Linked DNA regions of Homo sapiens: region 2 is linked to region 1. The links are contacts of gene promoters, found by promoter capture Hi-C in blood cells and fetal thymus (Javierre and others, 2016). All regions are on one chromosome and are shown on one strand. The core of a region is centred on a gene start or on the middle of the fragment in contact, and the rest is flanking DNA. Distances in the headings are between cores, read along the strand shown.

What was found. The method cuts DNA at HindIII sites, captures the fragments that hold promoters and counts their contacts. A CHiCAGO score of 5 or more calls a contact.
Region 2: a contact is called between a fragment that was not itself captured here and the fragment with the promoter of KCMF1 in region 1, in 5 of 17 cell types (M1 macrophages, M2 macrophages, M0 macrophages and 2 more). The highest score is 10.6, in M1 macrophages.

The regions. Positions count from the first base shown.
Region 1 is chr2:84,969,162-84,974,080 of GRCh38, forward strand. KCMF1 (potassium channel modulatory factor 1) reads left to right here and starts at 2,000. Exons shown (of 7, transcript NM_020122.5): 1 at 2,000-2,306. The coding sequence starts at 2,291. RefSeq lists an enhancer at 927-1,006 and silencers at 1,505-1,754, 1,785-2,874. The HindIII fragment of the contact is 10,310 bases long and covers 1-4,919 here.
Region 2 is chr2:85,286,539-85,291,457 of GRCh38, forward strand. All of the region lies in intron 4 of TCF7L1 (transcription factor 7 like 1), which reads left to right. Among named protein-coding and RNA genes, the nearest start is that of TGOLN2, 39 kb to the right of the region's middle. RefSeq lists an enhancer at 3,412-3,912. The HindIII fragment of the contact is 5,806 bases long and covers 767-4,919 here.

The sequences.
Region 1 (4,919 bases), core at 750-3,249:
ACCCTCTGCAAAACCAAGCAAATGAAATCTCTATATTTACTCTTAGTCCCTCCTGCAGTTCAGTACTGTTGTAGGCTTTCCTATCTGCTCCACCATTTTATCAGACTACAGCACTGATAATGCCTTAATCTCTATACAATTTATTTATAGACATCACTTACCCATCAGGAGACAATGGGATCAGCGTTGTTCTCCCCATTTTTACAGCCCAAGAAATTGAGGCTCCTGATACCCAGGATCACATATGCCAACACCGTAAAATGCTCAGAAAGGCATCGACACAGAGCTTTACTTAATACCCTTCTTTCTACTCCACCACACCCCATTTACGGCCAGGTTGGATCTCTTTCTACAAGAGAAATGGAATAAATTTGTGCAGGAGCTCCATACAGGCAATAAAAATATCTCTGGTGACAAAGTCCTCATTTAAACTCCAGTTTGTTTATCACTAGTTACTACCAAATACAGTCCCTTGGGAGTTCTGAGTGACCCAAAACCTACTTCCTGGACTTCAAGATGAGCTTTTAGTTTCTTTGAAATCAGGAAGTGTCTTAAAACCAGATTCAATGAAATACGGTAACAATCTTTTTACTGTGTCCTGTGCTAGGTATTTTATATGCATTTTAGCACTTAACCTCCAAACCTCTTATTATTAAACCTCTGTTGTTACGTCCATTTTAAAGATAGAAAAGTCAGGGCACAGAGAGGTTTAGAGATCACACAGCCAGCAAATGGTGGACAGTATAAGAGTAACCTCAAAGCAAGCAGTACCCCAGATTCCAATTTCAGTTGACTTAGCCTGGTAACAGTTCAATTTTATGCAAAACCCACAACTTCAAATGGAAAAAGATAAATTAAAACAACCACAAAAACCAGACAAATGGAGGCTCAGCAGGCCTTGTAGCTCATCCACGGTTACACAGAGGATCTCAGAGCCAAAATTCCATGGCCGATCCGTCTTGACTTCAAAGCGCGATCTATTTCCACCAAACCACGGAACCATCGACACGTGGTAAGGGGCAGTACAAAGATTTGTTGAATTAATAATGCCTGAAAACAAATTGACAATAAGAAGGTAAAAATGGAAAACACAGATAAAATCGGAAAAGCAGACCACTTTCAGGAAACAAAAAACTCCAAATTTTCAAGGCAGGGCATTCACGGTGAGCCAAGGCGCTGGGACAAAGTTTGCGCGGGTACCGCCGGACTCCCGGGCTGCCCGGCGCGGAGTCTTTAACGGAGATGGTTCGCAAGGAATCGGCCTCGGAGCCCGGCAGCCTCCTGGCTTCCCTCCTGACCACCAGTAACCCGGCCGGGAAACACTGGCGAAGACCGGGGGCCAGTCGCCTTCCCTTTCTGGGCTGTTGGCTTAAAATACACACAAACACAAGTCCCCAGGCGGTCCGCGGCCTCTCAGTGGGGCTGGAGCTCGCTGCCCGAGGCCCGCCCGGAAGCCATGCACCTGCGGACAGGAGTCTCTCCGAGTCGCAGCTCGCCGCCGAGAAGCACCCACCTCCCGCGGCCGGCGCAGCCCAAGGCCCTGGCCCCTATAGCCCGGCCTAGGCCCGCCCCAGGCGGGGCTAGGGGCGGCGTGGCGGGCGGGCGCCCCTCGGGCCGCGCCGGTGAGCAGCGGGAGCCGGCGCCGGGCATTTCCTCTTCCTCCCTACGCGCGGCGCGGCGGCGGCGGCGGCGGCCAGGCCGAGGCTGGGCACGGGCGCCCGATCGCGGCCTGCTGGCTAGCGCGGGCAAGCGCCGCGCCCCGAGCCGCCGTCGCCGCGTCGCCCCCGTCGCGACCGCCGGCCGCGGGGCCTCCGGGCGGCTGGGCCCGGCGAGGGCAGCGAGAGGCGGGGCTGGCGTGCGGGCGGCGGAAGGAGGCGGAGGAGGAGGAAGAGGAGGAGGAGGAGGCGGCGGCCGGGAGCCGGGGGAGAGGGGCGGGGGGTGGGCCGGGGGAGGGGAGGAGCGGGATTTGCGGAGCGCCGCGCCGCTGCCGGGAGCCGGCAGGCCCGAGAGTGACCGGAGTCACGGCGGGCGCCGGCGGAGCTGCGGCGTCGGACCCGCCTCCTGGAGGAGCTCAGCCCCGACCAGGCCCGGCCCCATTCCCGCCCCGCGCCGCCTCCCCGCCGCCGCCGCCGCCGCCGCCGCGGGAGCGCTCCCCTGCCCACCCCGCCCCCGCGGCCGAGCCCGGGAGTCGAGTGGGAGTCGGCCGGCCGGCGCGGGCAGCGCCGGGACCCCGCGGGGGACACTGCAGCCGGAGCCCGGGAGGGGCCGCGCCGCCACCGTCTGAACTAGGATGTCCCGACATGAAGGTGAGAGGAGCCCCCGCCCCCACCCGCACCTCCCGGGCCTCGGCCTACCCCGCCCGGGCCGGGCGCGGCGGAGGGCGGCCGGGAAGCGGCGGAGACTTTGGCCGAGCCCGAGCCGGGCCCGAGGCGCTGGACCCGGGAGCGAGCGAGCGAGGGCGGAGAGCCGCGGCGCCGCTGCCGCCACGGCCGCGGCCCTTAGCTGGGCCTGGTGCTGGAGGCGGGGCGGCCCGGGCGGCCGGAGGGTTTGCACTGTCATGGGGCGGAGGGGGAGGGGAGGCGGCGGGGCCCGTTACCGGCGGGAGCTCGGCCTTCGGGACTGATACCGGACGCCAAGGCCCGCCCGGCCGGTTCAGGAGCCGCGGGCCCCAGCGCGGCCTAGCGCTCCCGCCGCCCCGGAAGAGCCCGGTGTGGTCGCAGAGCCGGGCCGCGGGCGGCAGCAGGAGGCAAAAGAGCCGGCCCGGGACCCGGCAGGCGCGTCCGGTCGCCGGGAGACGACGGCGAGTGTCCCCGCCTGCGGGCGACCGCGGGGCTGGCGGGAAGGCTCTGCGGCCAAGGGACGGGAAGCCCTCGCCGCCTGGAGCCCGCCCCGGCCTCGCGGCTAGGCCTCGGCGCGTCCCTGGGCTCGGGTAACCAAGTTCCCGGGGTGGATCCGACCCCGCCGCAGCAAGCAAACTCCCTGCTCAGTCACCCAGGCGGAGCAGGGCTCGCTCCCCGCGGCCCTGGTGCCCTCGCCGGCATGTGCTGCCTACCAGACCAGGTTTTGGAAAATGACGATGGTGAGGTCTGTTCATGGTCGGGGGTCGTTTTGGACCTTGTTTTGCCATTTTAAAACACGATTGGAGTACAGTTGCAAATAAGCAGACAGCTCTAAGCCCAGTCCCAGGGCACAAAGAGACAAATGTTTAGGGTCGATGTATAGGCTTTGAGCTGGTAAGAAATAAGTTAACTTTAATTTATTGCCATATGGTTTAGAAAAGGAGGAGGGGGTTGTGTTTTCTTTGTTTCACTACTACAGGTTTTTGGATAAAAAGTGTTAAGAGTCTTGGCGAAAAGTTTGTCCTGCTAAGGTTAATACAAGATTGTAGAAGTGGCTTGAAAGTTTGTGTACTCCGGATTTTAAAATCCTGTATAGGTGATGTAGGAGTGGAGAAAGTTTAGTGAGTCAGTTTAGTGTGTGCTTAGCACTATGGGAAGGATATTCTTTGGGAAATACGGACCTTAGAATTTCAAGGCTGAAAAACTCAGATTGATTAAAATTGTATTTAGAACAAGTTTCAAAATTCGCATTACTAATTGCGACGTTGAAATTGACTCAACATTCTGTGTTCAACGATTCTGTATTTTAAAAGTTACAAAACTAATATGAAATATACTATATTTTCTTCGCAAAGCATTTGTTGAGTACTTACAGTGTTCAAGTGTTGGGCATTTTGAAATAATGAGGTACCTAGCCTCATTGAAAGGGACACAGAAGTAGGAAGCTATGCCTCTTTTCCCCACTTCGTCTGCTTAATCGAAATGTATCCTTATCTCTGTAATTTTAAGAACTCGTAATTAAAGTTATAATCAGTTTTCAATTTGGGATATTAAAGTTTATCTTAAACTGTAGTCCTGTGTACATTGACCACCTTCAAGACAAAACAAAAGTGAGCAATGGCTGCAAGCTCTCTTACTCTTGAAAACTGGGAGGGTTAGTTAGAGAATCACAGCCATGGAAGAGTGTTTCAGACCCATTCTCCTTGGTCTAAGAAAGCATACAGATAGTTCCAGACGAGCATTCTAATTGAAGTGTCCTGGGAAGAAAATTCCTTCACCCCCAGTGCTCTGTTAGAGTAATTAAAATCTCATATTTGGAACATTCTTGAATGTAACATATATTCTGTAATTTAAGCCCATTTCCCCCCATTTGGTGCTGTGCAAAGGTGTGTGGTTATGAAACTTATATTACCTTTTAGTTACTTGAATATTGCTGAACCTCAGCACACTAGTAGCACACCTTTCCTAGTAACTTATGTTAATGTCAGTAAATAGAACATACCTAATGAAAAAGGAACATACCTAAATACATCTGTTGAAGACTTATAGTACAATATTCGACAAGTGATTCTCTTTCAAGGGTCTAGTTTATGGCCTAAGACAGGAATAGCAGTCTCACGAATCACATTTAACTCATTAGATACATATTTTGTGGAATATTAGTTCAGACTGTCATTATTGTCATCAGTAAGACTTTGACCTATCAGTAAATACAGTGTTTGGCACCCTTGCTATTAGTTCTTTTCTTACCTTTGCCTTTTTTGGGCCAAAGAATCCCATTTCTTTCAGCATTTCTTTCTTTCTTTCTTTTTCTTTATTTCTTTCTTTTTTTTTTTTTTTTTTTTTTAGCTGGAGTCTCACTCTGTCACCAGGTTGGAGTGCAGTGGCGTGATCTCGGCTCACTGCAACTTCCACCTCCCAGATTCAAGCAGTTCTCCTGCCTCAGCCTCCCAAGTAGCTGGGATTACAGGCGCCTGCCACCACACCCATCCAATTTTTGTATTTTTAGTAGAGATCGGGTTTCATCATGTTGGTCAGGCTGGTCTTGAACTCCTGACCTCAGGTGATCCACCCGCCTTG
Region 2 (4,919 bases), core at 2,420-4,919, 320 kb after region 1:
AGGCTGGAGTGCAATGGCGCGATCTTGGCTCACCACAACCTCTGCCTCCTGGGTTCAAGCGATTCTCCTGCCTCAGCCTTCCAAGTAGCTGGGATTACAGGCATGTGCCACTATGCCCGGCTACCTTTGTATTTTTAATAGAGACAGGGTTTCTCCACGTTGGTCAGACTGGTCTCAAACTCCCAACCTCAGGTGATCCACCCTCCTCGGCCTCCCAAAGTGCTGGGATTACAGGCGTGAGCCACTGCGCCTGGCCAAAATTTTTAAAATTAGCCAGATGCAGTCATTCACACCTATAGTCCCATTTACTCAGGAGGCTGAGCTGGGAGTTCGGAGCTGCAGTGAGCCATGATTGTGCCACTGCACTCTAGCCTGGGTGACAGAGTGAGACCCTGTCGTGAACAAAAAAACAAAACTAACACGTGTACTCTGAGTTTCCCATTCTTCCTTTTGCACAGAGCAATCCTCTGAGAAATGAAAGAAAAACCCTGTGTTCAGCCTTCCTGTTCCTGTGAGCACCGTCCTGTTTCTTTTTTATTGTTTACCGCCTGACTTCCCACACCTCTGTCACCTCCTTTATTCTGCCACTCCACTGCAGCCCGGCTTAGCGCTTCAGTCACCATCGAATAACTAACTCCACTCATTTTCCTGCTTTTTTGCAACACAGCCGACAGCCAAGGCCTGACTACTCTCTGCTTCCTGTAAATCTTATCATTGACTCCAAGATACTGTATTAATACACATAATCAGTTGTTTGTCTTTTTGAAGCTTCCATTTTCTTTCTAGACTTTTATTCAAATAAATCAACTCTTCATCATCACTTATTCCTCTCAATGTTTGTGACAGAAAAAATATATAAAATCCCATCAAGAGAGCTGTAGAACTCTCAAGAAAGTTCTACACCCGTAGTTCCAACTGCCAAACAAACATCTAACCATTGCAGATGTGTGCTCTGCAAATAATAACTCAGCATTGTGGTGGAGCAGGGGTCCCTTATTTTGTCTAAGGGCAGAGAAGCATGAACCGTTGCCACACATGGCATTATAGATAGCAACATGGATAGTTTTCTAGTAAATTTTATATTACCGTAGTCTATATTATAATATAGCAAAGCAGACACAGGCCTCAAAAACTTAAGGAACATTTATGGGAGAAAATCTTAACTGGGAATTCAACAGATGGGGAGAAGACCATCATTCTCAGTTTTTGAGGCAGAGCATCTCATTCCAACGAGAGGTGTGTACGTGCAGGAGCAAAACCTGAGACACCCGGGGAGGAGGGTATATGAGTGGGAGGCTGTATAATACACTTGGTTGCAATCCCAGATCCACCTCTTTCTATTTATGCAGCTCCAAGCAAATTACCTCATCTCTCTTTGCCTTGGTTTCCTCATCTATTAAATGGGGATTAGAAGAGACTGACTTCATAGAGTCGTTGTGCGAAAATGAGCCAGTGTATTGTAATGAGTCTAGAATTGTGCCTCTACCACAAAATAAGTCCTCAATAACTATTAGCTTACTACTCCCAGCGTCACCACCACCACTACCGCTACCTCTACTATTATTAAATGAGAGGGAAAGAACAACGAAAATACTGTTTAATTAGCAAAACTAAGAGGTAATGAGGGCCTGAATTAGGTGCCAGAACAAATGGACAGATTGCAGAGGTAACAGAGATAATGAGCCTATAGAATTTAGCATCTAATCCCCCAAGGATATGATTTAATTGGTCTGGGGTGCGGCTGGTATCTTAGTTTTTAAGCTCCCCAGGAGATTCCAAGGGGCAGCCAGAGTCGAGGATCATTGTTGTAATTGCAAATCACAAACCAGAGGCGGAGTGGAAGGAGGACCTAGAGACATCCCAGTTTACTCCATGCGGCTCTCCAGGCTAGACGTGTGAGCAGAACTTGAAGGTTTTTCGGAGGGAGTCACAGAGGTTTGGACACCGGCTTTTTTGTTAAAATACTTGAGATTATGAAATGTATTTTAGAGTCAGGAGTAAAATATTTAAGGTGAGGTTTGCCCTGGGAGTAGAGCAAGCGAAGGAAACAGCCTGCATACTTGCAGAGATTTAGTGAGTCATGTAGAAGCTGCCTAACAAGGAAGTATGTCTAAGCAAGTCACAACTGGGCCCGGGTGCGGGATGAAGTTAAGTGCTTAATAATTTGGACTTTACACCTTCAAAACAAGCTCTAAAGACTAACAGTAACATTGTATAAGCAACTATTTGTAAGATCCGATCAGTGTAATTTCATCACTTGCAGATTATTATCCAGACCCCTCACCATGGCCCCACATGCCAGGTGCCTGTCTTCCCTCCAGTGTCCCCCAGGAGCACTGTGTCCAGCCACGCAAAACACATATATGCCCCTCTAGAATATAAGCAACACGAAGACAGGAATCGCATCTGAGCGCCTGTTGTAATGCTCGGGAGCATTTGTTGAATGAATGGAAGAATGAATGGTCTGGTAAAAAGTTAATACCCCTTCTCTACCCACATTTACCCAAGATCCAACCCCTTTTTTCATTCAGAACTGTTTTTTAATTTTAAAAAATCTTTTTTTGAAACCGTAAAAGTAATGCATGCACTGTGTAGAACTCTTGGGAAAATGCCAGAAAGCACAGAAAAAGATCTATAATCCCACAACCCACAAACATTTTGTTAAATAGTATTTCAGTCTGGAGTGTGTGTGTGTGTGTGTGTGTGTGTGTGTGTATACTTATAACTTGCTCTCTGATGACCAAAATGCTTCCTGTCCAGGTAGATGCCTAATAAATTCTGCTGAGTTACAGGCAAATGGGGCCAGAGACCCAGAGACCAGGAGACAAATAATCCAGATAACTTGGAAATGGTTGCAGTTCTCCAAAACTTTAGAGTGACTTAATCCAGCTTTTTGGAAAATGGTCAGATATTCAGGGGTTTTTTAATGCAAATTTTAGCTGTTAGGCTGAGCATCCAGAATCAGAAAAGGGACCTAGAGAGTAAGGAGTTGAGGGATAGAGGAAGGTGTAGAGAAAAATCTAGATGAGGTTAGTGCAAAGGCAGAAATATCTACCACCTTTGAAACTTTGCCACCTCTCTCTTCCTGGTTGCCTTTTATTTAAACATTTTAAAAATAGATAGACATAGATGGTTTCCAGTTGTTTGTTTGTTTTGAGACAGTCTCACTGTTGCCCAGGCTGGAGTGCAGTGGCACAAACTCAGCTCACTGCAACCTCCACCTCCTGGGTTCAAGAGATTCTCCTGCCTCAGCCTCCCGAGTACCTGGGATTACAGGTATTCACCACCACGCCCAGCTAATTTTTTTGTATTTTTAGTAGAGACGGGGTTTCATCATGTTGGCTAGGCTGGTCTGGCACTCCTGGCCTCACGGGATCCGCGCACCTCAGCCTCCCAAAGTGCTGGGATTACAGGCACGAGCCACCACGCCTAGCCCAGTTTTTTTTTTTTTTTCTCCGAGACAGAGTCTCACTATGTCGCCCAGGCTGGAGTGCAGTGGTGCGATCTCAGCTCACTGCAACTTTCACACTCCGGGTTCAAGCAATTCTCCCTGCCTCAGCCTCCCAAGTAGCTGGGATTACAGGCGCCTGCCACCACACATGGCTAATTTTTGTATTTTTTTAGTAGAGACGGGGTTTCACCATGATAGCCAGGCTGGTCTTGAACTCCTGACCTCAGGTGATCTGCCCGCCTTGGCCTCCCAAAGTGCTGGAATTACAGGCGTGAGCCACCTCACCCGGCCCCAGTTTTTAAGCTAAAGTTAGCATCCTGTGCATATATTTGTATACGTGTGCGCTTTTCCCCCCATTTAAAAAAAATTAGAGTTAGGGTCTCGCTATGTTGCTCAGGCTGGCCTTGCACTCCTGGCCTCAAGTGATCCGCCTGCCTCAGTCTCCAAAAGTGCTAGGATTACAGGCATGAGCCATCATGCCCAACCTCCCCATTTTTAAGATATAATTTACATATAGTGAAATTCACATGAGTATATAGTTCTGTGAGTTTTGACAAACTTTTGCAGTCATACATGAGTTCACCACAATCAAGATATAGAACAGTTCTCCTAGTCAGCTTAGCTTGGTATGAAAAGTAAAAATAAAAAAGATATAGGACAGTTCTGTGTTAGGGTTCTCCAGGGAAACAGAACCAAGGTGATGTATGTATATATAGCGAGTGAGTGAGTGAGTGTGAATGTGTAGAGGGAGAAAGATTTAAGAGGGTAAGCTGGCAGGCTGGAGACTGGCAGGGAAGAGTTACAGTCTAAGTCTAAAGGCAGTCTGCTAGCAGAGTTCTATTCAATTTAATGCTCAAGAATAATCCTCTTTGGCACCATTCATTCTCTGTCCTTCCAGCCCACCAGGATGGGAGCTGGGAGCTGTGCCCCTGAGGCCCTGGGCGGCAGCCACACCTTGTGAATCCCCTCTTGGGGTCATTCTTCCCTCTTCTTGAAAGATAACAAATGTTTGCAGCCACATCACTGTAGCCCATTCTGTAGAAGTCTGACAGCCTTCCTTCCCTTTGTCCTGTCTTTGTCCATTTTAATCCAAAAGGGCAGTATTTCTGCTGAGGTGGTTGGTTGAATCCATGCTTCACAGCCCCAGTCTCATTATCTGATCGTCCAGCCACACCATTGGTGTTCTCTTAGGAACACACCTTCTCATTTTTTTGCAATGAGGCTAGGCTGAGAATTTTCTAAATTTTCAAGTTCTGGTTCCTTTTTGCTTAACAATAATTTACTTCTCACATTTTACTACAAGCAGTAAGGAGAAACCAAGCCACACCTTCAGCACTTTGCTTAGAAATAACTTGTGCTGAATATCTAAATTCATCACTCACAAGTTCTACCTTTCACAAAACACTACAAAATAACTCAGCCATGTTTCTTCCCACTTTGTAACAAGAATCGCCTTTCCACTAGTTCC